Regions from separate parts of the Homo sapiens genome. Here regions 1, 2, 4, 5, 6 and 7 are each linked to region 3. Evidence: promoter capture Hi-C in 16 types of primary human blood cells and fetal thymus (Javierre and others, 2016). All regions are on one chromosome and are shown on one strand. Each heading gives the region's core, a stretch centred on a gene start or on the middle of the fragment in contact. The rest is flanking DNA. Distances are from core to core; before and after follow the strand shown.

Region 1 (4,012 bases), core at 418-2,917, 890 kb before region 3:
GAGGTCCACAACTACAGATTCTGTGCCCAAATTGTCAGCTGCCTGTTTTTGTATATGGTTTTAACTTTTGTGAACAATTGAGAAAAATAAAAAGAATGATATTTTGTAGTATTTGAAAATTATGTGAAATTCAAATTTCAACAGTTATGAATAAAGTTTTATGACAGCGCAGTTGCACTCATTCATTTATGTATCTTACGGCTGCTTTTGTGATTCAAAGATCAGAGTTGAATAGTCTGGACAGAGACCTTGTGTGGTGTTCTCATTATTTCCCCTTGCTTTAGACACATCACAAACCACAGTGAGGCAACTAGCACACTACAGTGTTTCAAGTGCTATACTTTTTGCCATGCTATGACTTTTCATTTATTTATTTTATCACACTGTAACTGTAACAAGAGAATACAATGTGTGTGCAAATTACCAGACTAGGCACTTATCACAATATTCTCAACTCATAGGAAAGCAATAATAAGGAAAATCGGAAAAGTTAAGCATATTCTTACTATTGAGTTTAAGAAGAAAAAAGAAAAGTTAAAAAAAATTAAGCAGCAATATCTCAACACATAGCTGACATTATTTTTCTTTATTTTTATTTTTCTTTTCTGTTTTTCTTTTCTTTTCTTTTCTTTTCTTTTTTTTTTTTTTTTTTTTTTTTTGAGACGGAATTTCACTCTGTCCCCCAGGCTGGGGTGCAGTGGCATGATCTCAACTCACTGCAACCTCCGCCTCCCGAGATCAAGCGATTCTCCTGCCTCAGCCTCCCACGTAGCTGGGATTACGCGCGCGCGACACCATACCTGGCTAATTTTTGTATTTTTAGTAGAGACGGGGCTTCACCATGTTGGCCAGGCTGGTCCCGAACTCCTGACCTCAAGTGATCCACCCGCCTTGGCCTCTCAAAGTGCTGGGATTACAGGCGCGAGCCGCCACGCCCGGCCAACATAGCTGGATTTCTTTTTCTTCTCCCCTCCCCTCCCCTCCCCTTCCCTCCCCTCCCCTCCCCTCCCCTCCTCTCCCCTCTCCTTTTTTTCTCTTCCCTTCTCTTCTTTTCTTATCTTCTGTCGCCCAGGCTGGAGAGCAGTGGCACTATCACGGCTCACTGCAGTCTTGACCTCTCGGGCTCGCGTGATCTCCCACTTCAGCCTACCGAGTAGCTGGGACTACAGATGTGTGCCACCAGGCTCGGCTAATTTTTTGTAGTTTTTGTAGAGGCGAGGTTTCTCCATATTTCCCAGGCTGGTCTCGAACTCCTGGGCATCGGCCCTCCTCGGCCTCCCAAAGTGTTGGGATTACAGGTGTGAGCCGCTGCGCTCGGCCTGGATTTCTTCATAAAGATAAAATTGGAAATAAAATTGCAGCCCAAGTAAGCTTCCAAGTGGCTCATTTGTTCCTCAAATGAGGAAAGCCATTTGCGGATAGCGAATCAACAAATCATGTTTGTACTCATTTTCTCAGAAACGTATTCTGAGAAAATAATCTTTATGAAGAATGTTAACCTTTTTGCTAGGTGGGGTGGGACTTTGGGAAAAAACCCAACAGTTTATTAAAACAAACAAAGCAAGAAACCAAATTGTCCGGCAGAGGGCAGCATTACCCCACAGAGCCAAAACCTTTGCCAGGAGGAACCCGTGTTCATTGCCAAGATTGATTGATTTTGAGACAGAGGTTTGTCCTTGTTGCCCAGGCTGGAGTGCAATGGCGCAATCTCAGCTCATTGCAACCTCCGTCTCCCAGGTTCAAGCAATTCTTCTGCTTCAGCCTCCCGAGTAGCTGGGTTTACAGGCGCCTGCCACCATGACCGGCTAATTTTTTGTATTTTGGTAGAGATGGGGTTTCACCATGTTGGCCATTTTGGTCTCGAAATCCTGACCTCAGGTGATCCACCGACCTCAGGTGATCCATCCGCCTCGGCCTCCCAAAGTGCTGGGATTACAGGTGTGAGCCACCGTGCCCGGCTTGCCAAGCTTTATTAACTAACATTTGTGGTGCCAGGCTGTTATGGTGATTTCTTCCTATTAGCTTATTTAATCTTCATGAAAACCCTTCAAGATAGGTACTATTTTATTTTCATTTTACAAATAAGAAAACTGAAACTCAGAATGGCTAAGTGACTTTTACCTGGTTCACATATCAATTAAGGTCAAGCCTTTGGCTCCAGGACCTATGTTTTTATTGAAGTAAATGATTATAAAGTGCCTGCTATGCACTAGGCATGGTCTAAGCACTTCACATGCTTTAATTACTTTAATCTTTATGATAACCCCAAGATTTAGGTACTATTATTACCATTTCCATTGTACCGATAAAGAAACCAAGATAAAGAGGTGAAGGTGATCCTACCTTCCCAAGGGAACTCCCACTGTCAGGCTTGAGTCCACAGGAGAGGCTCTAGCTGCTCTACGTGGCAGCACTAGGGTGAAGGCAGTGAGGCTCCTACTGCTCTGGTTCTGGCTGGGTCACACATGTCGGGGATGGGTTGCCAGCTCCCTCAATAAACCCCTACCTAGTCTTCTGAGTGACTCAAATCAGGTATCTTTGGTAGAGTGGAGTGGGGAACAGTAATATATCTTTGAGTGGAGTGGGGACAGTAATATATCTTTGAGTAGAGTGGGATGGGGAACACTAATATGAGTCCCAGAGTCCCAGGATTGAGAACCTGCAGTTCTGATGTCAGAGAGCAGAAGTTGGATGTCCTAGCTCCAGAATAAAGAGCAAATTTGTCCTTCCCCTGTCTTTTTGTTCTGTTGAGACCTTCAAGGAATTGGAAGAATAATGCCTATCCACATTGGTGAGGACAGATCATTTTGACTCAGTCTAGTGGTTCAAATAGTAATACCTTCTACCCTGGGAGAAAGCAGTCCCTCCAGGGTCAGCAAGGCCCCAAGATGTCAAAGCATCAAAAATACAGAATAAAAAGGTCATAATTAACACAAGATGGACAAAAGCCTTCTTCACCCCAGCATCTAGAAGTGTTCTTTTTTTTTTGACAGAACCTTGCTCTCACCAAGGCTGGAGTGCAGTGGTGTGATCTCGGCTCACTGCAACCTCTGCCTCCCGGGTTCAAGTGATCCCCCCACCTGAGCCTCCCAAGTAGCTAGGATTGCAGGCGTGCACCACCATGCCTGGCTAATTTTTTTGTATTTTTAGTAGAAACAGGGTTTCACCATGTTGGCCAGTCTGGTATCGAACTCCTGACTTCAAGTGATCCATCCACCTTAGCCTTTCCAAGTGCTAGGATTACAGGTGTGAGCCACCGTGCCTGGTCTAAGAGCATTCTTTGTTAAAAATTTATTTTATTTTTTCCTAATTGACAAATAGTTGTTGTACATAGTCATGAGGTACCTAGTGATGTTTTGATACAAATAATATCTGGTGATCAGATCATGGTAATCAGTGTATTCATCATTTCAAAGGTTTATCATTTCTTTGTGTTGGGAACATTCAATATCCTCTTTCTCACTGTTTGAAACTATATAATATATTATTGTTAACTATAGTCATCCTACAGTGATATAGAACACTAGAACTAATTCCCCTTACCTATCTGTTTTTTTGTATCCTTTAACAAATCTCTCCCTATCCCTCCCTTCCTATCCTTCCTAGCCTCCAGTGTAAGAGTATTCTTGCTCAGGGTGGTGTGGCAGCCCCTGTTTGGAAGCCAGCAGGGAATGTGCACCCCTGTGACTGAAGACTTGAAAGTCCCCATTCCACAAGACTCAGGCTACTTGGGTACTAAGTAGGACTAAAACCAGAGAAAAAGTAGGCTGGAGCAAAATTTATTGTGCTTTTGGATAAATATCCAGCATTTCCTGTAAAATGTTACAGCAATTCCCTCATGGAATGTAACGAGACTAGAAAAGCCCTCCCAGAGATTTCCCCACCTAGTTTTGTGGAATGTAACTCAGGTGGCTGACCCAGGGTCTGAGATTTGCATAGTGACTTTTAGCGCAAAACATTACCTTTCTTGTGCCTCATCTAGCAAGGCAATTTAGCCTCACTTGTCTGTTAT
Region 2 (4,027 bases), core at 813-3,312, 730 kb after region 3:
CAGAGGGGAGCAGGCATGGCATGGCGAGGGGGGCGGGAGGAGCCAGGCTCTTTTCAACAATCAGTTCTCACTCACTCCTGTGATAATGGCACCAAGCCATTCAGGAGGAACCCACCCCCACAGTCCAAACACTTCCACCACGCCTCACCTCCAACATTGAGGGTCAGAGTTCAACATGAGACTTGAAGTGGACAAACGTCTAACATTTATCACTGAACAGACCTGGAGCGTGCTGCCTCCTGTGCATCTTTGTTTTTTGACTTAGGGAAGATGCACCTTTGCCAGTGACCACCCCACCCCTTAGTCTCCCCACCCCTTAGTCTCCCCACCTCTTAGACTCCCCACCCCTTAGACTCCCCACCTCTTAGTCTTCCCGGGTCGCACTGCCCAGAGCCGGGTCCTTGGGAAGCCGGGAAGCAGTCACCTCCCACCTCCTCCCATGTCATGGAAGTGGGTTTTGCTGGCAAGGAGGACAGGGAAGGGATGACTACTCATTGAGCAGCCCAGTGCCCACCACACTTGCCATCACTGGAAGAATTCTGGCAGCAGCAGATGGACAGGGGTGGCAGCGTGGTCTCAGGATTCCTTCATCCTAAGAGAGGCAGTCGCAGACCCTGTTGAGCCCCTTCACCCTGTTGATGCCATGGACTCCTTTGGCGTGAGCCATCAACTCAGGGCCTCCTCTCAGAAGGTGTTCAAATGAATAAAACACATTGATTACATGGGATTATAAAGAAGTCTAATTATGCCAAGACACAGTTATCAAAATATTTTCCTAATATGTGCTTCTTAATGCATTAAATAACAAGTCTTCCTGTCTAATTGCTGCCATAATTTAAAGTAGTGATGAGCATAAACAATGTTTTGAAAAAGCTACAATAATTAATGTGATGAAAATATCTGTGATTTTTTAATTAGTGACAAAGTTCCTATTTTGTTGTCGACATTCGTTGTAGAGTGTTCCATTTCAGTTGGAGGTTGTGAAAATAACAATATCATTTTTCCCATCTAAGTTGCTGGACCCCCTAAATTCTAAGCATCTCCATGTCGGTGAGATGCATGGTCCCCACTGTCCTGGAGCCTCCGTGACTTTGTCATCTCCCTGCTGCAGGGTCAAAGGGGTGTTCTCCAGCGCCCAGGCAGCTGCCCAGAGCTCTAATCCTGATTCCAAGAGCAAAAACGGGAACAGACCGCCCTTGAGGACAGGCGCTGCTGGAGCCAAGAGACTCACAGTCGGTCACCTGATTTGCATTTATATTGAGAAATCACAGCTGGAGGGTACCCTGGCAGATGGGTGAGGCTGAGCCACTCAGGCTCTAGGGAAGCCACGCTGTCCTCACAGTGCCCACCCATTGATCTGTGACACGTGGGCCAAGGGGCGTGGGATTTTGCTGGTCAGCTTCTCTCCCTATTGAAGCCGCATGGGAAGGAAGTGGGCAGAAGACTGCTCGGCAAGCAAGGAGCCAGAGTACTGAATGCAAGGACCTTCACAAAGTGCCTCTTGAGGTGGAAAGACGGAGGCGTTTCTGCGCCGCTGCGTGGCCTCAGCCACGAAACTGTCATTCGGAGACTGCTTGGCCTGGACTCCAGCTCAGGATATGCAGAGTGGGTGCTGCCTGATGCCTCATCTGGGCCTGCCAGGTCTGCGGCAGGAGGGCGGGTAGGATGGGAAGGAGCCCATCCTGGGACAGAGCATGTAAATGCATAGCCACCACTGTCGGGTGCCACACAGGAGTGAAGTCCAGGAGTGAAAAGAAACACTTGAGGGAAAGGAAGAGGGGCGAACAGAGGAGGTGGCACTGGGTGCGGCTTCTCAGGCCCTGGAATGGGTGTCCCACCCTTCAAATAACCTCTCATCTCTACACAAAGACGTTACCCCATTTTACCCCTGGGGAAACTGAGGCTCTGATCAGCTAAGTCATTTGCCTAATTTACCCACACAGTGCCAAGTTAAGCACCCAGGCTGTGACTGTCCTCTTCCTGGTCCGGTGGGGACACGGGGACAGGAGGTGATGGGAAGTGAAATGGGCCTTTGGTCGTAGCCAGGGGAGGGGCAGTGACTCCCGTTGCTAACAGGGAAAGCTGGAGTCGCCTCCGCCCGCCGGCTCATGAGGGCTGGAGGGGAGGAGTCAGGAGACTCAGGGGTGGGAGAGATGGGCTCCACCGCTGCATCCTGCCACCCACCACCTGTGTCACCATGGGATGTCACTGAGCCTGCTCTGTGAAATGGGAACCCTTCTGTTCACCCTGGAAAATCATTGTCAAGATCAGAGAGGAAGCACGAAAAGTGCCTCCTGGCCATGCAGTGGCTCCACCTGCAATCCCAGCACTTGAGGAGGCCAAGGCAGGAGGATTGCTTGAGTCCAGGAGTCTGAGACCAGCCTGGGCAACATAGTGAGACTCCCATCTCTACAAAATAATAATAATAATAAGCTGGGCATGGTGATGCACCCCTGTGGTTGGGCTACTCGGGATGGCTTGAGCCCAGGAGTTTGAGGCTGCAGTGAGCCATAATTGCACCACTGTACTCCAGCCTGGAGCAAGACCCTGTCTCAAAAAAAATTTTTTTTAATTTGCGCTCTGATCTAGGCCAGCCCAGAGCTGCAGCCCCGGCCCATGAGCCTCCCCAGCTTTCCCGGCAGGTCTGTGGGCCGTCCAGAAGGAAAGGGACTGGAGCAGGGGAGCCAATGGGATTTCCACATCTGCCAAGTCTTCAGGGAATGTGGGATGGCACGGGGACCCGGGAAATAAGGGTGGAGGTGTCAGCCCTGCATTTTTACAGCCTAGAAGTGACGTCAGAGACCACCAGAGAGGGGGACGGCAGAGAGAGGGAGGACAGGGGCCTGGAAACACAGATCCACACACAGGCTGGAAAGGACCGAGCAAGACACTGCTGGCTGGGCAGAGGCAGCTGGAAGGAAAGGAAGGAAGGTGCGGGACAAACGAGGCTGCCCCACGGCCCGAGCCAGAGCACAGTGAGCTCTGGGAAGAGGTACCTGGATTTTTGGCAACAAGGAAGTTGGTCCGATGCCAGCAGGTGAGGAGCATCCTCCTCATGTGAGGAACACGGGGCTGGAGCAGGGGAGGACAGGGTGTGTGGCCACTGGTTCAGGTGGGGATGTCTGGGACGGACCTGAGAAGCTGAGGCTGATGGGACAGCGAGGGGACAGAGAACTCTCCGGAAACTTCTGGCTCCGGGGCAGAGGGCCGAGCTAAGGGGTGGCATGGGTAGCCACTGTTTCCCTCCCACTCCCCCAGCCCCCTGCACTGGGGATTTTGAGGCTGTCTGCACTTCATATGTTTGAGAGAAACCCACGATTGTAGAGCTGAAGATGTAGAATTTGGCCCGCAGGTAACTGCACACCAACCAGGACCAGCCCTGCTCATGAGCTTCACTGCGGCACCCATTTCATCACACAAGGGGCCAACCAGAGGCCAATTCAGGAGATGTCAATGTCTGTGTGCCTCCACCCCAAAATTCATAGATTGAAATCCTAACCCCCAAGGCAATGATATTAGGAGGTGGGGTCTTAGGGAGGTGGGCAGGTCATGAGGATGGCCCTGATCCAGTCTGACTGCTGTGCTTATAAGAGATGATGACACAGACCCACACAAAGGGGCGGCCACGTGTGGACGCAGGGAGAAGACAGCCGTCCCACGCCATGGAGAGGCTTCAGGAGCAACCAACCCTGCAGACACCTTGATCCTGGACTTCCGGCATCCGGGGCTGTGCGTTGTGCAAGCCCCCCCGAGCCTGCACTGTTTTGTTCTGGCAGCTCCAAGCTGACTCATACAAGCCCAGAGCCCTCGCAATTCCCACACGCCACATGCATGGCTCAGCTGCACCTCCTGCCAGCTCCAAACCTCACGGCACAGGGTACACACTTGTGTGTCCATATGGTCAGCTTTCAGCACTGGACAGGGCTTCTAAGGTCCCATCCCATGACATGCTCCCCTCACCTGGGTCCTCCTTCCGACACTCCCAACATGTGTTCTGGCATCAGCTGGGGGGCCATGCTTGTGCTGG
Region 3 (3,832 bases), core at 1,205-3,704:
TCCCAGCTACTTGGGAGGCTGAGGCAGGAAGATCGCTTGAACCCGGGAGGCGGAGGTTGCGGTGAGGTGAGATCACGCCATTGCACTCCAGCCTGGGCAACAAGAGCAAAACTCCATCTCAAAAAAAAAAAAAAAAGGTACGAGCTGGGTGTGGTGGCACATGCCTGTAGTCCCAACTACTCAGGAGGTAGAGGCAGAGCTGCTTGAGCTGAGGAGTTCAACACAAGTCTCAGCAACACAGTGAGACCCCTATCCCAGAAAAACAAAAGAAGAAAGAAAAAAGGAGGCAGTCTCGTCTTGTTTAAGGCTGTCACCAAAACATACTAGCATGGCAGGATATCTGGGGACAGAGTGAGGGGTCACAGGAACAATGGTCATGGCATAAGAGGACTGGGCACGTGTAGGCCACCAAAGCCTGACACCTAAACACCCTTCCTGACATCTAGTATTTCAGAAACAAAACAGAACTGGATTTCCTTACACTTACTTTGAGTCACATACAGAAGTGGTGGGCGCACCCGATGATGCTCAGGGTTTCTAAAGGCCTCACTCTGTGCCTGGTGGTATGGTCATTTATTCCTTCACTGAAGGCACTCTGAGCGCCTGCTCTGTGCCGTGCACATGCTAAGAACTAGAGACAGAAAGATGAATCGCACAGTCCCCGTCTCAAGCAGCTCAAAGTCCAGTGAGAGCTCCTAGTCTCCAATGTTTTTAAAAAGAGGAAAGAGAAAAAGATATTTTACAACAAAATCTACACTCAACCAACTGAACAATGAAATAATTCTCTTTACACCCGAGTGATATCAACAGCCCCCTAAGCTTTCATAGCAACTGGTAGATGAAAAGTCGCCACCCTAACTGCTCTCCTCCACTGTGCAAACCTACTCTAAATCCCAAATCACTACCCAGGAGGGTCCTTTCTAAAGCAATGGATTTGCAGCAAAGAATGCTTTTCTGGTGTTGCACCTGACAACCTCACAGGCCCCACAGGCCCCCTTCCACAGCCCACAGGTGCAGGTTTACCTCTATACATACGAATATTTCATAGATGCTTCTCCCCACTAACCTAGAAGCCCCAGCAGAAGTGAGGACCATGTTTCCTTGTGCATGCCACTGTAAACCCAGGGCCCAGTCCAGAATGAGGGCTCAACAGATGTTTATAGAAGGAGTGAAGATTTAGAGAAATCGAAAAAATTTTAGATCTTACAAGGCCCTTGCATCTAAACACTCCTCCAATTATGGCTAAAAAATGAGGAGCTATAGAAAACTGTCCTATTTAAATTTTGTTTCTAAAAACATTCATTTTGGCTTCTTTTAAAAAAGTTACTCAATTACTGAACAGATCACTGGTGTGGCCTGTTGAACACAGTGCTGTAACTTCCTGCACAAGAGACAAGTCTGAAAGTTTTGCTTTCCGCTGTGAAAGCATTGGTGACTGCTTGACAGACTCGCTTGAAGCAAATAATGTGTTTTTGGTTAAAAAAAAAAAGTATAAACGCCTAATAACAAAATAGGCATATTTTTGGCTAGAATTTTTTTTTCCAAGGAAAAACCTCCAGCTCATTTTGCTGCCTAAGCCAAAACAGATGCTCCCACTAAGTTGGTGGTGGAACAGACCCAAAGATTCCAATAATGACATATATAACGTGTGTCAACAAGAAAACAAGTGTAAAATCTGCAAACGAGTCCCCAGCTAAGGCGAAATCTTGACAACGCTACTCTGAGGTGAGCGATCCCCTCCCTCCTCCGGGGTTAGGAGTGGCCCAGGAGAGGCGGCGGTGACACGCGCTCTGCGGCCCGGCCGTGTCCCTCTCGGCGCCCCGGGACCCCGCGTGTGGAGAAGGAGAGGCCCGGCGGAGGGAAGTGGCCGGGGAGGACCCTACCTGCCAGCCTCCGGCGCTCAGGGTACGCCAGCCCCAGGAGCTTCCGGGCCTCCGGGAGTCCGGCCGCTGCGGGGCGCAGCCGCCCCTTGTCCCCGGGAGGCGCCGCCGGCCCGCGCCGCCAGGCCTCGTCCCCTGCCCAGGCAGCGGCTGCGGGACCGCCCGGGAACCGGGCGCGCGGGAGCCGAGGAGCGCCTGGCCCGGCAAAAGCCCCGCACCTGCAGCTGCCGGGGCCGCGAGCCCACAGCCCCAGGAGCCGCGCGAGGCCCAGGACGCCCCGCGAGGCGCCCGGACCCCCGCCCCGGCAGCCGCTCCTCCAGCGGCGCGCGGCTCCAACGCCCCAGAGCAGCGCGGGCCCCGCGCCCCATAGCCGCGCCGGCCTCAGGCCAGTGAACGGCGATAGGGACCCGGGAACGCGGCTGGCCGCGGCCCACACGCAGGCTACCGGCAGGAGCCGACCTGGCTCGGCAGGGCTCGGTGGCTCGAGCAGCCGCAGCGGCCAGGCAGGGGGGCCTCGCATGGCGCTGCGTGCGACCCGTACGCCTCAGCCCGCCGGCCAGGCGCGCGCAAAGCCCGAGGACCCTCCCGGCCCGGCCCCGAGCAAAGGGCGTGGACGCGGTGGCGCCCGCCCCTCCCCGCTGGCTGTCACCCGCCTTATCGTGCCTGCACCCTCGGGCTGCGCCCGCCCCCGCCCCATCCTCGTCCGCGCGGTGCCGCGCCTCTCCGCCCCACTCCGGGGACTGCAGCTACCCGGACCTTGCAAGCCACCCTTCCGAGCGCCCCCAACCCGCTCGGGTGCCCTCCCTGCAGCGCCCCCAACTGCCCGCTGGCGGAGGAGCGCCGGGCGCGCCAGCTGGGACGAGGCCCGGGAAGCCCAGGAGCACGGCTGCGCCTGCGTACTGGGCGCAGGGAACTTTTTCGCGCTTCGCCGTCCCCTCTGGTCTGAACTTGGGAACGACACGAGCTCTTTCTCACGCCGGCAGACCGGGCGGAGCGCGCAGACGCGACCACACGATGGCCGGCACAAAGATGGGGCGGGAGGACAGCGTGCTGGATACGGCGTGGGGCGGGTCCGCGGCCCGGGAGACCCATGCTGGGGCGGCCCTGTCACTCGTCTCGCTGCCAAGCACAGGGCTGAGGTGCGGAGGGACCACTGAGAGGACTTCGCTGCGTGTCAGCTCAGCTCTGGACGGCGTGGAGGAGGTGGTTGGCGAATAGTGAAATGTATATAACTTTGAGAAGGGAAGAGATCGTTTCTTTTTTTTCTTTTTTTTTTTTTTCTTGAGACGATCTCGGCTCACTGCAACCTCTGCCTCCCAGGTTCAAGTGATTCTCCCTTCTCAGCCTCCCAAGTAGCTGGGATTACAGGCATACGCCACCACACCCGGCTGATTTTGTATTTTTAGTAGAGACGGGGTTTTACCATGTTGGTCAGGCTCTTTTCGAACTCCTGACCTCAGGTGATCCGCCCGCGTCAGCCTCCCAAAGTGCTGGGATTGCAGGCGTGAGCCACCGTGCCCGGCCTGAGATCGTTTCTTAACTAGAGCAGAAATTTGAAGACAGGCGTGGTCGAGGCATTCCCGCTGTTCGAAGTGGAAAACACTAATCAGAAGGCAATGCATCTTAATACACGTGCATGGAAAGACAGGAGAGAACATTAAAACTCACTGGGACACTTTATGGAGACTTCATGGGGGCGGGGGGGGATATGTACCTGAGGTCCAGTGAGTCGTGGGTAGATTTTTGTAGACTCCTAGGTATTTTTACTGGACCTGGACAGGGTACTGTCAGTTGCAAATTTTATGGGTTCACAAAATAAAAAAACCTCAATAATCAACATAAACATTTTAGTGCAATATTTTTAAAAATCAAAATTAATTTAAAAAATCCGTAATGAACAAAATATAAAAAATTTTGATTGAGTATCCACTCCTGACCTTTCACAATCCTGC
Region 4 (3,888 bases), core at 1,121-3,620, 660 kb after region 3:
GAAATAATGTTTTTAATCTTGAGACAGTACCTTGTACTCAAACACACTAATGTTTTTGCAGCAGAACATGAATATGCATACCAAGTGGGATAAATCAGGAGAACAGTCATCAGGTCAGGTTTTACTGCCACATAATTCAGATCATGGCAGGCTTTGCCACCAAATATGATACAGATTTTTTTCCAAGGTGTTTTTGTTTTTTTTTTTAATGTTGGAATCAAAGATTAGGAATTATGGACCCTCGCTAGGTAAATAAAGAAGAATACCATTGATTCTGCTGCCACATGATAAACAGCCCACTCCGGAGGCACCAGAGCCTACTTTTGGGTTGCTATGCTGTAGATGAGGGGAGCAGGGCATAAAGGGAGTTGAAACTCCCGGGATGGTCTTCAGCTTGATATCCTGCAGGGCCTCTGGTGCACAGGTTGCCCTTGAGATTGGTTAGCACCCAGCGTAGCTCCTGGTAGGCTTTGCCACTCCCTCACTGTCACCACGTGCTGGGTGGGCTGAACTAGATCTCTCTCGGTAGCTGCTTTTATGGAATCACTCAGTTAACCCAGTTGACTGTAGAATCCTGTCTGCAAAGAGGCATCCCCTGGAGGCCAGCGCATGGTGGTGCCATCAAACGAAGGTACTTTTGTTAGGGTTGGTCCATTCTTGGGCTTAATCAGACCCGCCCTAAGGAAATCATGGTATGATGTGACGGTGATGCTAATGATCTGCCTTCTATTGTTGGCAAACCTTATCTTGGCCAAATATTAGCTAAAATCTCTGAATTGGTCTGTGTTTCACCTAGATACTAATGGTCTACGCAGTGGGCTGTTAGCAAGCTTGTATCATGAACTCCCCAAGTTCTCCTTTCTTTAAATACACCGAATTACTCAAAACTGGTTTTTTCTTTAAAGAAAAAGCTTTTTAAAAGTAGATACGTGTTTGTTGCACACAGGAAGAAAAGTCTGAAAGCTTCACATTGTCTCTGGTGAACATCCTTCCTAATTTGTCTCATACCCTCTGATGTTCGATGTATGTCATTTTCTATAAATACAATGACAGTAAAATGACACTGTATTTGCTGTTTGCCTGCCTACTTTTTTTTCATTCAGTAATACATAGGAAATATTTTCTAGGACTGTTAAATATATAACTTTCCCTTATAAAAGCTGTATATATCCCATTTTATGTTTATTTAGCTAGCTCTCTGGTAATGGACTGCTAGATTCTTTTCCTTTTTAATGCTAACGTTGGGATGAATATTTTCGAATAACCTCCTTGCTTACTCATTTAAAAGGAGATGCTATTTGAGATGACAGTGTGTTATTTGGTTCTGAAAATGTACCAGAATTTACTCAATATATTGCTGAGTTTGGCTACTGCTTTATTTTAGGTTTTGAATGAAGATTCATAGCTGAAAGTGTCTGTGGCCAGCCAGCCTGCCTGCCTTCTTTTCCTCCTCTCTCCCGTCTTCCTTCCTTCATCTAGCTTTGGCTTCAAGATTATGTTAACTTTGTAAAATGAATTTAGAACAAATTCCTAAATTTCTTTAGATGCTTCAGAAAAACTGATTTGTAAAGGAGTTATTTGTTTCTTGGAGCTCACCTTTCAAAGTCATCTAAACTTAGAGCTATTTTTATTTTCATTACAGTAATCCTTTGATAACCTTTTAAAATTCTTCCATGAATATTGACATGTGTTCAGTTTTTCTATGCTTTACTTGAATTAATTTGATTTATATCTTCCCAGAAGAATAAATTTCCCTTGGATTTTCAAATTTATTGGCATAGTGTTATATGTATATGCACTTAAATCTTTATTAATTATAAACTTTTCATTTTTTTCTTCTTTAAAAATGCCAGTGATGTGTCTCTGGTTTCTCCTCCTTACTTCTGTCTTCTTTTCATCCTTGACATCAAGTGCTGGGATTTTATATACATTTCACTGCTTTTCTCTTTTTTTTTTTTTGAGACAGAGTCTTGCTCTGTCACCCAGGCTGGAGTGCAGTGGTGCGATCTCAGCTCACTGCAAGCTCTGCCTGCCGGGTTCACGCCATTCTCCTGTCTCAGCCTCCTGAGTAGCTGGGACTACAGGCGTCCACCACCACGCCCGGCTAATTTTTTGTATTTTTAGTAGAGACGGGGTTTCACCATGTTAGCCAGAATGGTCTCGATCTCCTGACCTCGTGATCCGCCCGCCTCGGCCTCCCTGCTTTTCTCTTTAATGCATTCATGTCTGCCTGTTGCCTCTGCTTTCCTCTGCACTCCCCCTGCCCCATGAGAGTTGAATGTTGAATGTTTACTTTATGTCTACTTAATTGGTTTCTGAGTGCAGCTTTGGCTGAGTCTCATAATACGAAATATAGTGTGATAATTTTGGTTATTTTTAAACCTACTTGTAAATGACCGCTATTATTATTTCTCACCACTCTGGAATTCTGTTTTTGGTTTCTTTTTTGGTACGTTGCTTATTTAGGAAAGAGTTTCAAAATCGTAAGAAACTGATTTTTTTTTCTTTTTATCTTTTTAAACTTAGGTCATTGGAGATTTTTTTCTCCTGACTTTATTGCTGTGGAGTCAGACATTACAACTTTATAATTTTACTATTTTGCATATATGGAGGGTTTTACTTTGGGCATGAGATGTAGCTACCTTTAATTGAGATTTTCGTTCCAGGTGCTATGCTAAGCAATTTACACACATTACTCATTTAATTCTCACAGCAACCCTATGAGGCATAGGTACTGTTGTTATTGTTACTAAGATTTGATAGTTAGAGAAACAGAACTTGCCCCATTAACCAGGCTGTGGTGAGGTCTAAACAACAGCCTGCCCCCAGAGGCTGCAATCTTTACTTCTCATTTCTATGAATATTTGATGGGTATTTTTTAAAAGCTAGTAACATCTATACTCATTTCCAAATTCAAATATACATGTTCAACCAACCTGATCGATTACATTCAAAACCTTTGTTATTGATAAAAGCATTTGAAACTCAACATTACAGTGCTAGGAGTTTCTGCTTATTTCTAAGCATGAGGGGCTTAGAAGATATATATTCATGGATTATACCCTTATTGACATAAAATTACCCCACTTTATTTGTTTTTCTTTTCTTTTTTTTTTTTTTTAATAGAGATGGGCTCTCACTGTGTTGCCCAGGCTGTCCTTGAACAAGTTTTCCTTTTTTGCCATACATTTTGCTTTGCATAAATGTTAATCTCCTACTTTATTTCACTTACTCTTGATACATTTTTGTATCTTACTGATTTTTTTTCTTTTTTGGATGCCATTTTGTCTTAGGTTTATCTTTTGTAACACATATATTTTGATTTTTAAGCCAACCTGATGGTCTAAAGTTTAATAGACTCTTAGCCATTTTTTTTTTAATTTTATTCATTTACTTTTTTTGAGATGGAGTCTTACTCTGTCACCCAGGCTGGAGTACAGTGGTGTGATCTCGGCTTACTGCAGCCTCCGCCTCCCAGGTTCAAGCGATTCTCTCCTGCCTCAGCCTCCCGAGTAGCTGGGACTACAGGCACCCGCCATCACACCGGGTAAATTTTTGTATTTTTAGTAGAGACAGGGTTTCGCCATATTGGCCAGGCTGGTCTTGAACTCCTGACCTCAGGTGATCCTCCTGCCTCGGCCTCCCAAAGTGCTGGGATTGTAGGCGTGAGCCACTGTGCCTAGCCGAAAAGTTCGTCTTTTTAACCACAGGCCAAAACAGAGCAATTCAGTGTATCTGAAAAGAGTGGTGTCCTAAAATGTCACCCTCCACAGAACTTAAGCTTTTCTCCTGTCCACTTGGGACAATCAGAACTGCTCAGGGGTCCCACAGACTCCATTATCTGGCCCAGCTTTTGTGGGGAGAACTGCAAGAGTAGGGTAGGAAAGA
Region 5 (4,273 bases), core at 1,322-3,821, 760 kb after region 3:
CAGTAGTTGTTAAGCTCCAAAACACCCATCTCCATCTAGGACAAGAAAAGGACCCAGGGGGAGGGTGATGTCCCGGATCTCATAATGATTGTTTTCAGTATTCGGATCAGCAGAGAGGATTGGATATGGAAAGGAGAAAATCCCCCACAAAGTTGTCAGGTAAGTCAGGGATAAAATCCCCCGTCCTCGTGATGAATCAGGACAGCCAGTGCCCACAGCAGTTAGGACGCGGCCTCCTGCGTCAGGCAAACCCGGGTCTGCTTACCTGGGCGAACCATTGCACCACTCCATCTGGGCGTGGTGACAGTCCATGCCTAACCCACAGGGATCCCTGTGAGGAGTAAGGCTCTGGGGCAGAAGGGCCACCCCAAGCCGCCTGGAAGTGTGCCTGCCTGTTAGCCACCGCTGTCATACCTTTCAAACACAGCACCTGCGAGGATGCAGGAGACAGATCTGGGAGGTACCACACCCAAGGTCACCTTTCTCCCCCATCAGTGTCGTTGACTTGTTCTCGCCCCAATCCCAGGCAAGTGGGGAAATGTTTTTTTTTTGCCATGAATGCAGACTGGAGGAGAATGTGTGAGGCTTGCGTAGTTGCAAGGCCCCATGGCCCTCCCGGGTTTGCCCTGCTTCCTCTCAGCCTGATGCTTGGTGACCCCCCCTCACTGTTGGGGGGGCTGAGCCTGGGTCCCTGGGGAGGATGGTGACACACGGGCCACACAGGAAGGATTCAGAACCTTCCAGGCTCTGTCCTGGGGACCTGCAATCTTCTTGCTTCTTGCACGCAGCAGAGTTAACTCAATTTTGGTGACCAAGCCTCATCTGATTTAGTCAGTACTGGATGTGTTTGCTCAGAATGACCCAGCCACCAAGACTTTTCCATATGACTTGCCTGACTTTTGAAAGATGTCCCTAGTATAATGTCCCATGGACCACGGGAAGACGTTGTTCAAACTCGAGGCTTTTTTTTTTTTTTTTTTTTTGTGGCGGGGTGGGGGTTGGAGTCTCGCTCTGTCACCCAGGCTGGAGTGCAGTGGTGCGATCTTGGCTCACTGCAGCCTCTGCTTCCCGGATTCAAGATATTCTCCTGCTTAGCCTCCCGAGTAGCTGGGACTACAGGTGTCCACCACCACACCCAGCTAATTTTTGTATTTTTAGTAGAGATGGGGTTTCACCATATTGGCCAGGCTGGTCTCAATCTCCTGGCCTTGTGATCCGCCTGCCTCGGCCTCCCAAAGTGCTGGGATTACAGGTGTGAGCCACCGCACCTGGCCAAAATCGAGGCTCTTTAGGGAGCAGAGTGTGGGGAAAGACAATGAAAGTCGAATATGGAACCTGATCAAGTAGGCACCAAACAGAAACAGACATTCACTCAATGAAGTTAAATTTGCCTAAGAAGGACCTCACGGGACGCTCAACACAACTGCAGTAATGGGAAGGTCTCATAAACTCCGTGAAGCTCAGTGCAGGTTCAATTCCCTGTGAGTTGCAGGGAAATGCAGATTCTCTTTGGAGAAGCTTGGAAGTTTTTGTGGGTGTTTTGTTTTGCATAAGGCTGGGAAGCTCATTGCTCCATCTTTTTTTTCCAGAGCCTGCAGCAGAGACATCCCTCAGGGGATCGGCTTGGCTTAGTGGCTGGATCTGAGTGGAATGGGCTCTCACTTGCCATGTGTGCAGTGGTGCTTGCCAGCCCCATATACTCAGCCAGGGCCATGCTGGCTCCCTCTGTCATAAGACCACTTACGATGCTCTTTCCTCATCCCCAGGGATGGCCAGCTACTCCAAAGCCAATCAAGAATCAACCTGAGGGCTGTTGAACCCAGGGAGATACTGGAACCAGATGCACTTCAACTAGAGTCACTCCAAAAAGCCACTTTGAATCACATCTCTAAGGCAAGGTCCAGGTCCCTGGAGGTTCTGTCAGTCCGTCCTACATGCTATTCTGTCCTTCTGGATGGAGAAGAGAAACTCTTCTCAGTCAACAGCATTCCTCCAGAGACCTGAAGTGGCCACTGAAGCCTCCCCTAGACCCGGCTCAACAGCTGCCTTTTCCCATCATGTATCAGACAACAGGTGGCTGCCATTTTAGAAACAGAGTGTTACAATGTTACAATTATTCTCTCATGACTGGGGAATGCAGCCACCCACTGCCTGTCAGAACAGCACCTCTTCCTGCTCATCTGGAATGACACACGACACAAACTAGAAGAAAAGAGGGAAAACCACCAGGCCGGAAGGCAGGCCTGCTAGTGTCTTCAATGAAACAGGCACCTCAAATACAACTGCACTCATACAACTGCAACATCAAGAGGTATTTCTATTAGCCAAACTCAAAAACATTTCTTTTTTAAACTGCTCAGTGGTTTGAGACACCAAGAACAGTTAATATCATACACACCAGATTATATAACAAAAAAAATCAAGTATTTAAAAGAGTAGCCTGTATTTTTGTTCCTTCACCTTGTTTTTTTTCTTGATACAGGGTCTGGCTCTGTCACCCAGGCTGGAGTGCAGTGGCTCAAGAGATCCTCCCACCTCAGCCTCCCAAGTAGCTGGGACTGCAGGCATGTGCCACCACACCTAATTCTTGTATTTTTTGTAGAAATGGGCTTTCGCCATGTTGCCAATGCTGGTCTCAAACTCCTGGACTCAAGCGATCCGCCCGCTTCAGCCTCCAAAAGTGCTGGGATTACAGGCATGAGCCACCGCACCCCGCCTGTTCCCTGACCTTTTAAACGAATTCACGTATTAACGGAGAATCAACATCTAAATAGACTTTTATTTTTATTTTACTTGTTTGGACAGAAAAGAAAATTCATCAGCTTTCATTAGAGTCTCCTTAAGTGTTGGAAACACATTAAACTCAGAAATAGTGGACCTTGTAGAAAAGCATCACAAATTAAAAATATATTTCTCCATGTGGTAAAAGTGCTTTCAATCCCATTAAAGGGCACAGCAAGGGTGTTTGGAAACACGATCTGAAATTTGGCCTGCAATCCGTGGCATCGATTCCAACCACAGGGCGGGGGAGTCACCATGATCTAGAGCACAGGAGCCACGTGGGGCCCGGAGCATGCGGACAGCAACACTCGCAATAACTGAGTGAGGACGAGGCCCATAGCCTGAGTAGAATAGATTCTGTATTTGTAAAAAATGAGGTGGTTACATCAACTGGGTTGAAGGGGGACTGGGTAATCCCAGAAATTCCTTGTTTCTGGTCTGTGGGGATGGTCAGATCTGCCCACCACTCTGGCACCGAGGCTTCCCTGGAGACGCATAAACCTGGGTTGGGAAAGTGCCCAGATCTGCCTGGGGGACACACGAGCCTCGCTGCCAGTGCCGGGCACGCAGCCTCTCCAGTCCTGCCGTCAGCAACCGCCTCCGGCCCTCATGTCAAATCACACCTGACCAGAGTTGTCACCACAGTCCTGTTTTGGGGTTTTTCCAAGGCCAGCCCTGTTGTTCTGAGGGGCCACTCTGAGCAGGCAAACACTGCCAGGGTCACTCACTACACACAGAGGAAAGACAATGAGCAAATGGCCATCGTAGAGAATTCGGTTGTGTGTTTCAGCAATGCTACTTATTTTTCAAGACAAGTAATTCTGCCAATGATGACATCTGCGACAAAGCTTAGGGCCCGCGGGCTCCCCATGCGCCTCGTGGAGAGCAACCACGTCTGTTCGGAAGCCAGCGGCCCTTCCCGGCCCTGCCACAGGCCAGAACACAGAACTGTGATCATGCAAAGAGCCGTGACTGAGGCCGGGGTCAGCGTCGGGGGTGGAGAGGAGGGGACATCTGCCTTTTACATTAGATCTGAAGCAACAGTAAGAAAATAACCTGAAGATATATTTAAAAATAAAAAATAGCATCATCCTTCACTCCAAGTTTTTGGCATTTCCCTCTCTCCCCTGCCCACCAGCTAAGCAGAGGGAATGAGCAGGAATGCCTCGTTTTTCAGAATGGGCACCCACTCCCCATTTCACCACTGTACACCCAGGATGTGTGTCTTCTTCTAAGAGACCGGTTCAAAGGTGCTGGCATGAGGCAAATGCTGGAAAACCCTCCGGCCTCCCCTGACACCTGAGCCATTGTAACCATGCAGGGCGTCTTTGCTTCCTTCAAGTCTTGAACTTGAACCACGTCCCAGATTGCTGTAGATCTTTAGGAAGCAGGCATCTCTCTTAGAGCGTGCTCCAGCTCATTCTACCACGGGGGCCTTCCTTCACAGTCACCAGTCCACGCTGCCTCGCAAGCTCCACGGATGTCATGAGAG
Region 6 (4,071 bases), core at 1,558-4,057, 680 kb after region 3:
GCGCATCTCTAGAGGTGTATCTGCTTGAGAGTAGAAATGGGATTTCACTGTTTTAAAACACTTTTTTTTAACGTGTTAGAAAGATGTTCTCAATATGTTACTTTTTGCCGAAATCGTTCATCTCTCAGAACGTAACTCCGGTTGTGTTTTTCTGTTTCCTTATGTCCCGTTGGCAGTTCATCTCAGAACAGGCCAGGAACTTCTGCAGATAACAAGTTAATCATAGCATGTCCATCCCAGTTGGTCAGTCTGCCTGTTCTCTGAAGGGCTAAACAAGCTGTGGCTGCTCTGGGGGTCATTGTTCAGAGGACCATCTTTCTCTTCCTGCAGGTGTCAGCGGAAGCAGTGGCGGGTGGATCTGCCGGCCACCAGCGTGGTGATCACGTTTCACAATGAAGCCAGGTCGGCCCTACTCAGGACCGTGGTCAGGTGAGGCCAGGAGATGCATTACCTGTCAGGGGTGTTAAGACATTAGCTGTGTCCCAGGCACAGTCAGACCAGGGCTGTCAGTGGGGGCTGCAGACAGGGTCTCCTGACTGCTCAGCACAGGGTGCAGTGTGTAGCTCCTCCAACCAAGGGTTAGGACCAACATATGAGAATTTTCTACCCCAGGCTAAAAGTTTATACCCCTAAAAGACCTATAAACTTTATCTTCTTGTCTTTTCTTAGCGTGCTTAAGAAAAGCCCGCCCCATCTCATAAAAGAAATCATCTTGGTGGATGACTACAGCAATGATCGTGAGTACTGACACTGATTTTATCCCTGTGTCTGGCTCTTCTCTGGGCACCAGTCTTCCTGTAGTGGGGGTGCTAATGAGGCGTGAACAAGCCAGAAATCAGATCCACAGAAAGAAGAGGTGCCTCTGTGATGCCCCAAGGAGATAATCGGCCCTTAGATGATTGAGAATACTATGGTTGAATGCAAAGCCCTTTATGAACTCCAGGTTCAAAATGCTCTGCTTCTTTTCTTTTCCTAGCTGAGGACGGGGCTCTCTTGGGGAAAATTGAGAAAGTGCGAGTTCTTAGAAATGATCGACGAGAAGGTAAGATTCTTCTTAATTCAGCGCCAAGACAGTTGAATTCTGACTTTTCCTGTAATAACATAAAGAAGTGCTTTAGCTCAAAGAGCAATTAATTGTCTAGCTTTTTTCTGTCTCCCTCTACCAGAGCCGCTTGGGAGACTTCTCCCAGCAAACACAGGAAAGACATTAAAAGCTTGACTAATTGAAATTATTAGTATATTAGAGCAGGATCAAATTACATTTTCATTTATGTATTTAGAAAATTGGCTTCTTTCTTTCACAACCTAGGAAGTCTTATCAGTCCCTTGAATACAAAAGTTTAGAAGAAAAACAAAGATTTAGCAATAAGAAGTTGAATGACTCCATGCTCCAGGCATCTGATAAAATAACCGGGATTCAAGTTTGACAGCCTGCTGAAGGTGAACCATCCAAAATGGGGAGACAGTACTGCAATTATATGCTCATGCGATTTTGCAAATGCCAACCTCGGAACCTTCTGTCAGTCTTATCTGTGCTGGAGCTGAGCTCATGAGGACTCTTTTATTGGCAGTTAGAAGAGAGGCTGTAAAGGAGGAAAGTAGTACACTGGAGTGTCTGGGAAGGAAGCTCCAATCACAATGTAATTAACATCCAGTGTGTCAGTGCTGTTAGAGACCCTGAAGACTGAATTGTTAGGCTCCTCCATGGTTGGGAGAAATCTTTCAGTATAGGAAAATCACAGAGCTTTGGAACCCATGCCACATTTGCTATTTAAGTCTGACTGTTGATCCAGGGGTGGTGATTGTATTCCTTCATCAGTGTAAAACTCTTTCTTCTCATTACATATGCACTCCAGCTGGAGTCAAGGAGTGAAGTTTTTCTTACCAGGAATCTTATTGGCCAACACAGTGATTGAGCCTGTTAGAACAGCATCATATTTTAACCAACTAGGGTCATCAACCTAGACATTCAAGATACATAAACAGTGGGATAAGCCTTGCCTTCTAAACAAGCTGTTTGCCAGACTCACATCAGTCCACCAAGCCTGGAATAAACCAAAAAGGGGGCAATTTGCTGCCCCCTAAACACCTTCAAAATAACTTTATGAATTTAAACCCAAAGTATCTGCCATCCTACCCCATCACCTGGCACAGGCTTTAAAAAAAAAAAAAAAGAGAAGTGGGGAAGGAGGAAAGAGAGATAGTGTTGGCACTGTAAATCACTTATGAGCCTTATCTAACAGTGTCTTTGTCTTTAAACTGCTTAGAAATCAGAACAATGCTTCTCAGTATTAACTTTCCGCTAGAATGTTCATTTCGGTTGAACCCGTGCTGATACGTTGTTTCGGGGAAGGCATGAGAAGGGTGGGTTGGGAGAAGCCAGATTATGGAAAGCCTATATGGAACAGCTGAAGTCTGTAACAATTGAATGAGAAAATATGTGCACACTTGCACACACACTCATGTATATATGTACCCATGTGTGTGTATAAGATCCCATCTATGTAAGCATACACACAAAGTGCTTGTAGTGATGCTACTAGATGACAAAGTAAATTAATTGCCTAAAATATTATGGTAGTGAAAGCAGTCTTAGGATCATTCTTCTGTGGATTTTATTGTGCATTGATTCTTAACCTAGCAATTTATTAGAAGCACCTAGGGAATTTAGGACCATGTCTTGCCCTCATTCACAATTAAATAGAAATTTCTGGATTTCTCTGGGTGGGGTGTGGGCAGCTGCATTTTTAAAAGCTGCTAAAATGATGCCGATGTACAGTGGAAGTTGAGAGCCTAGTACTTTCATTTTACAGATGGAAATACTAAATCTAAAGAGGCTAGGTGGCTTTCTCAAGGCCCTTACAGCTATTTAATGACAATAGTAGGACCAAAACCATGTTAATAATGAGATAAATCTTTTTCTCTGCATTTGTGGAGATAGTCAAGTGGTATTTCTTTTTTTAATCTGTTAATATGGTGAAATACATTGGTTGATTTTCAGATGTTAAACCAGCTTTGCATTCCTAGCATAAGCCCCAGTTGGTCATGATACAGTATCCTTTTAATATATTTTTGTTAAGGATTTTTATACCTGTGTTCATGGGAAACATTGGTCTGTAATTTTCTTAAAATGTATTTTTCCAGTTTTGGCATTATGGTTTACTAGCCTTATAAAACAAGATGGAAAGTGTGCCCTTCTATTTTATTTTCTAAAAGAGTTTGTATAATATTTTAATTATTTCTTTTTTAAATGTTTAATAGAATTAGCCAGTCTGGACCAAGAATTTTCTTTATGGAAAGATTTTTGATAACTAATTCAATCTCTTTAATGGATATAGGCGTATTCAGATCTGCTGTTTCTTTTTGTGTCTGTTTCAAGAAATTTTGTATTTTATCAACGTTTTTATATTTATTGGCTCAAAGTTGCTTATGATATTGTCTCTTTTTTTACTGTTTGTCGGATTAGTATTACTATTTTATTGATTTTGGTAATTTATATCTTCTTATTTTCTTTATCTGTCTGCTGTTCATCGACGCTGTTCATTTTTTAAAAGAACCAATATTTGGCTTTTGTATTAGGATTCTCCAAAAGGACAGAACTAATAGGATAGATGTATATATAAACAGGAGTTTATTAAGGAATATTGACTCACACAATCACAAGGTGAAGCCCCACAATAGGCCATCTGCAGCCGAGGAGCAGGGAAGCCAGTCCAAGTCCCAAAACCTCAAAAGTGGGGAAGCTGACAGTTCAGCCTTCAGTCAGTGGTTGAATGTCCAATAGTCCCAAAGCTGAAGAACTTGGAGTCCAATGTTCAAGGGCAGGAAGCATCCAGCGTGGAAGAAAGATGTAGGCCGGGGGAGACCAAGCCAGTCCAGTCTCTCTACATCCTTCTGTCTGCTTTTATTCTGGCCGTGCTGGCAGCTGATTAGATTGTGCCCACCCAGATTGAGGGTAGTTCATTTACATGTGGCGTAATCATTGGTGTGACTAGGTTTGGGTCTGCTCTTCGGCTGTTTCTTCTCTATTTGTACCATGTGCATTTTGCTTTTTGTAACTGTGTTCCTGCT
Region 7 (4,281 bases), core at 1,639-4,138, 820 kb before region 3:
CATGAATAGGGCAAACATTAGTTCCCGGCATTTTAGATAAGGATGCAGGGAGCTGACTAAGTTGTGTCCAGAAAAACGGGCCCAAATGAGTGGGCGTGGGATGATATTCAGCATGAGAAGGGGAAAAGCAAGAGGGGGACGCACAGGACACAAAAACTGACAGCTGGCCAGATGGAGGGGCAAAGCCAAGTTTTGTAGGGCCTGAGGCTTATCACATTTGTGAGACTTCATTAAGAAAAAAAAATACAAAATTAAGAATAGAAAATTAGATACAAAAACAAATGTTTAAAGTGAGAAATGCATCACAATAAGTTACAAATTTTAAAAGGCTAACAAACACCATAAACTTAAACAAAATACATAAGACATGACATTTTAATAAACTGCTTGACACACTTCTATGACATTATTTTCATTTTTCAGTTGCATACCCTTTGATCACTTCTTCAGTTTTGTAAGATATTTTCTATAAGAACAATAGGAAGTTACTTCACACACAGGTGAACTTGCTTTTTGTTGTACTACTACAGCCTCATGTCCTTACAAACATGGGAATTCAGATCATTCATTTCATGTGATTTTTCTCCAAAAATGTATGATGCATTTGTAAGTGTATCTGCTGCATTTAGAGTACAGGTACATTTCTGACAGCAGACAACTTCTGTTTTGATCAGGTTTAGTAGAGAGAACCAAACCTTCTCTAACAATGTTGTGTTTTCTTCTGTTTGTTTCTTTTTGAGACAGTGTCTCACTCTCGCCCAGGCTAGAGTATATTGGTTGATCAAGGGCTCACTGGAGCCTCGACTTCCCAGGCTCAAGTGATCCTCCTACCTCAGCCTCTGGAGTATTTGGATTACAGGTGTGAGTCACCACACCTGGCTAATTTTTTTATTTTTGGTAGAGACAGGGTTTCGCCATGTTGGCCAAGCTGGTCTCGAACTCGTGGCCTCAACCGGTCTGACTGCTTCAGCCCCCCAAAGTGTTGGGATTACAGGCGTGAGCCACCGCACCAGCCGATATTAGGTGCTTTATGATGGAAAGAATTGCCAGACTAGCTTCCAGCTCTGCCCATCTCAAGCTCTGCTACTCTTGCTACTGGAACCCTTCTAGTGTTGGGGAAAGTAAGACAGTTAAGGGCACCAATGTGACTCTCACAGAGGGTCATAGGTATGTCAGTGGTAGCCATTCCTATACCTGGATGGCTAGCAACAACATATCTACATAGGAGAACTGTAAACCACATAAATATATCCTGTCATCACAGCCAGGGCGAGGGAGAGGCAAGTCAGGTACCTGAGGCTCAAAACTTAACATTGGCACTTGCCTGACCCTGAGAGTAAGGGCCCTCTAAATTTGTTGTTTTTTGATATTGCCTCTGAATGCTCAATTTGTCATAAATTTTGCATCCTTGACATCCCCCTTATCTCACCTTCATCCTGATTCTGTATCCCATTACACCCAAACAACCTGTTTGGGTCTCCCCAACTTCACTTTCTTTGGCTGATCCCCAAAATCTTCATGGCCTCTTCAAAGTCACTCAATATGAGGGTAAGTTACAGTTTAAAAAGACAGTGAACATAACTGGTGGTGATTAAAATACTTTTTTTTTTTTCAAAATTTACAGAAACATATTACCACGTGTACACATTGCTAGGTCTTCCAATGTGAAAGTGTCCTTTGCAAGTCAGGGGTCCTGGATTCAAGCTTCTAACTTCTTGATAAATCCATCTCTGCATTCTGACCATGGCCATACGTTCAAGATTACGTTTATCATACTGACTTATTTTTGCCTCCAGGATTTTGGTTAGAAGCTCAGGCTCTGGGGCTAGACTATTTGGGTTTGGATCCTGGCATTGCCACTTACTAGCTTGTGGAATCCCAAAACGTTACTTAATATCTCTGTGCCTCAGGTGTTCTCATCTGTAAGTAATGTTAAGATTAAAAGAATTAGTTCTTGAAGAGTGCTTACAACAGTATCTGACACATTATGAAAGTTCAGTATTTGTTATTGTTATTTTTACTACCACTAGTATCAATGTGTATTAATAATATGTGGCCCTTCTCACACCACGCTGTACACCCCCAGGACTCTTGGTATTCTGACTTGGCTAAGAGGCGTCCTTTTTCTGAATAGACTGTTGACCACATGTAGAAGGAAGGCAGAGAGAGAAATGAATCAAAGGGAAACGGAATATTTTTTCAGACATATTAATGTCTCCGAATTACCTTTAAGTAAATGAAGGAATTGGGGGTATAAAAAAATTTCTGGAGCATACATGTATAAAGGTTCACGGCATGCCGAAAGACAAAGTCAAAGGAGCATTCACAATGGAGCTGGCATCCTTTTGCTTCAAAATGAGAAAAAATCACACGATCAGCTGCAGTTAGACTTAAGGAAAAAAGCTGTCTGTTAATTCAATCTCATTCGCAGGACAGGCCTCCAGGACACTTCATTTTTCCCCCTGGGTGGAGCCGTGGCCAGCCGGGGGCTCCACGGAGTGAATAGGAGGCGGCTCAGGCTTCCTGGCTCGCGTGGGCGCCAGAAAGCGGAACCTCCCGGGCCAGTCGCGCGGTGGTCACCCTCTTGGGAGCTGGGGAGGAGGCTGCGGAGGCTGGCCCGGCTCCTTCGGGCGTCGCTTCCCGGACCGGGTGCGCGGGGTCCCCCGGAACGTGTGTTCCAGGTCCTCCCGCGCCAGTGTTCGCAGTCCCCGCCTGGTCGCGGCGGCGCCTCGGGCGCGGGTGCAGGCGCGCGGCGCGCAGGCGGGGGGCGCTGTGGTCTTGGCGCGGGGACCGAGCCGCTCGGCCAGACCCGCCTCTTTTCCCTCCCCGCCAGCCCGCCCGCCTGCCCGCCCCCCACGCGTCGTGTCGCCGGGAAGCCGGGCGGAGACAGAGCGCTTGGGATCCACGGCGCTCGGACCGCTGTCCTCCAACAGCGCAGGGCAGAGCGGCTGGCGCCGCCGGAGCGCGGAGCCACGACCCTCCCTGGCCGCCTTTGTCTACTGGCCGTGCGGCCCGGAACCGCCACTCTCCAGGGCCGGGGACGCGCCCGCAGCTGTCGGTGACAGCTCCTCCCTACCGCAACCCTCCGGGGCGGAGGGGCGGTCGGGCCGGGCCCTGCTAGCCCGCGACCGCAAGCCCGCGCTCGCGGATCGATGCCCCCGCAGCAGGGGGACCCCGCGTTCCCCGACCGCTGCGAGGCGCCTCCGGTGCCGCCGCGTCGGGAGCGCGGTGGACGCGGGGGACGCGGGCCTGGGGAGCCGGGGGGCCGGGGGCGTGCGGGGGGTGCCGAGGGGCGCGGCGTCAAGTGCGTGCTGGTCGGCGACGGCGCGGTGGGCAAGACGAGCCTGGTGGTGAGCTACACCACCAACGGCTACCCCACCGAGTACATCCCTACTGCCTTCGACAACTTCTCCGGTGAGCTGGCCGGGGGGCCGGGGCCGGGGGCGCGTGGCCGCGGTCCACCCAGGGGAAGGAAGGTGGCGCGAGGGTCGCGAGGTTCCCAAGGGGGCTGCAGGGCCCCGGGCGCGGCTCCAGCTGGGAAGCCGGACAAATGAGGAGTGCAGGACGTTTCCTGAGTCTCAGGGACCGGGCAAGCGCGGAGCTAACACGAAAGGACCACGGCGGAGTGGGCTTGGAGAGAGGAGGGCGGAGCGGCAGTCAGAGCCTTGCCAAAAAAAAAAAAAAAAAAAATCTCACAATTTAAGCAACAGATAAGTAGGAGTGAAACAGGTTGAGTTCAGGGTGCCCGGTCAGTTTGTTGCATAGAGCAAAGTTTCCTGAGGGCGACGTCGCTGGCGCCGCTGCAGAGTTTCAATCAGAAGGTGACGCGCAGGTGCCTTTACCTGAGCGTCGCTCCTTTGCTTTTAGGCGGCTCAGCTCACAAGGGGCGTCTCCGCTTTAAAGAGCCGCGGAGACGCCGGGAAAACACTTGATTTAGTGAAAAAGCGCGAGCGGCCCTCGTGAAGGCTTAGGTTTGGATGAAACCTGAAGAGTAAACACCATTTCTTTCTTCTGAGCCCCACCACCTTCCCTGCCCACATGGGCTCGGATTCTGATTGTTGGTATCTTTTCAGGATCCCTTTAAGCTACTTAAAGCTCCTATGTACCGGGTGCGATGCCATTTCCCTTGGTAGATACAAAGAGAAAGGAATTCTCTATCTTGCTATTCAGGTCTTTTTGAAATTTAAGAAAAAGTTAAAATTCACAGAAACTAGTATGAAACACTTAACTGTCTTGCTTCTTTAAAAAAAAATTGCTTCTCTGACCTTCCTTTCATCCCAA

Evidence for each region. The method cuts DNA at HindIII sites, captures the fragments that hold promoters and counts their contacts. A CHiCAGO score of 5 or more calls a contact.
Region 1: a fragment that was not itself captured here is called in contact with the fragment with the promoter of ABCB10 in region 3 in 4 of 17 cell types (fetal thymus, naive CD8 T cells, non-activated CD4 T cells and 1 more); the score reaches 9.1 in fetal thymus.
Region 2: a contact is called between a fragment that was not itself captured here and the fragment with the promoter of ABCB10 in region 3, in 5 of 17 cell types (fetal thymus, endothelial precursors, megakaryocytes and 2 more). The highest score is 7.3, in fetal thymus.
Region 4: a fragment that was not itself captured here is called in contact with the fragment with the promoter of ABCB10 in region 3 in 1 of 17 cell types (endothelial precursors); the score reaches 5.5 in endothelial precursors.
Region 5: a contact is called between a fragment that was not itself captured here and the fragment with the promoter of ABCB10 in region 3, in 3 of 17 cell types (naive B cells, endothelial precursors and fetal thymus). The highest score is 5.9, in naive B cells.
Region 6: a fragment that was not itself captured here is called in contact with the fragment with the promoter of ABCB10 in region 3 in 4 of 17 cell types (M2 macrophages, megakaryocytes, endothelial precursors and 1 more); the score reaches 7.4 in M2 macrophages.
Region 7: a contact is called between the fragment with the promoter of RHOU here and the fragment with the promoter of ABCB10 in region 3, in 13 of 17 cell types (fetal thymus, total CD4 T cells, neutrophils and 10 more). The highest score is 18.5, in fetal thymus.

Annotation. Positions count from the first base shown.
Region 1 is chr1:228,662,992-228,667,003 of GRCh38, forward strand. It overlaps a transcript of RHOU not described here. Among named protein-coding and RNA genes, the nearest start is that of RHOU, 70 kb to the right of the region's middle. The HindIII fragment of the contact is 596 bases long and covers 1,370-1,965 here.
Region 2 is chr1:230,285,027-230,289,053 of GRCh38, forward strand. No RefSeq gene overlaps it. Among named protein-coding and RNA genes, the nearest start is that of PGBD5, 140 kb to the right of the region's middle. RefSeq lists enhancers at 1,423-1,922, 3,107-3,606. The HindIII fragment of the contact is 4,168 bases long and covers 1-4,027 here.
Region 3 is chr1:229,556,253-229,560,084 of GRCh38, forward strand. ABCB10 (ATP binding cassette subfamily B member 10) reads right to left here and starts at 2,455. Exons shown (of 13, transcript NM_012089.3): 1 at 1,884-2,455. The coding sequence starts at 2,400. RefSeq lists silencers at 1,665-2,114, 2,175-2,874 and an enhancer at 3,045-3,234. The HindIII fragment of the contact is 4,467 bases long and covers 818-3,832 here.
Region 4 is chr1:230,220,086-230,223,973 of GRCh38, forward strand. All of the region lies in intron 3 of GALNT2 (polypeptide N-acetylgalactosaminyltransferase 2), which reads left to right. Among named protein-coding and RNA genes, the nearest start is that of GALNT2, 150 kb to the left of the region's middle. The HindIII fragment of the contact is 2,818 bases long and covers 962-3,779 here.
Region 5 is chr1:230,318,887-230,323,159 of GRCh38, forward strand. It overlaps PGBD5 (piggyBac transposable element derived 5), which reads right to left. Exons shown (of 7, transcript NM_001258311.2): 7 at 1-4,273. Among named protein-coding and RNA genes, the nearest start is that of PGBD5, 110 kb to the right of the region's middle. The HindIII fragment of the contact is 2,111 bases long and covers 1,517-3,627 here.
Region 6 is chr1:230,235,684-230,239,754 of GRCh38, forward strand. It overlaps GALNT2 (polypeptide N-acetylgalactosaminyltransferase 2), which reads left to right. Exons shown (of 16, transcript NM_004481.5): 4 at 331-429; 5 at 670-737; 6 at 977-1,042. Among named protein-coding and RNA genes, the nearest start is that of GALNT2, 170 kb to the left of the region's middle. The HindIII fragment of the contact is 3,191 bases long and covers 1,213-4,071 here.
Region 7 is chr1:228,732,591-228,736,871 of GRCh38, forward strand. RHOU (ras homolog family member U) reads left to right here and starts at 2,889. Exons shown (of 3, transcript NM_021205.6): 1 at 2,889-3,414. The coding sequence starts at 3,153. The HindIII fragment of the contact is 4,915 bases long and covers 1,703-4,281 here.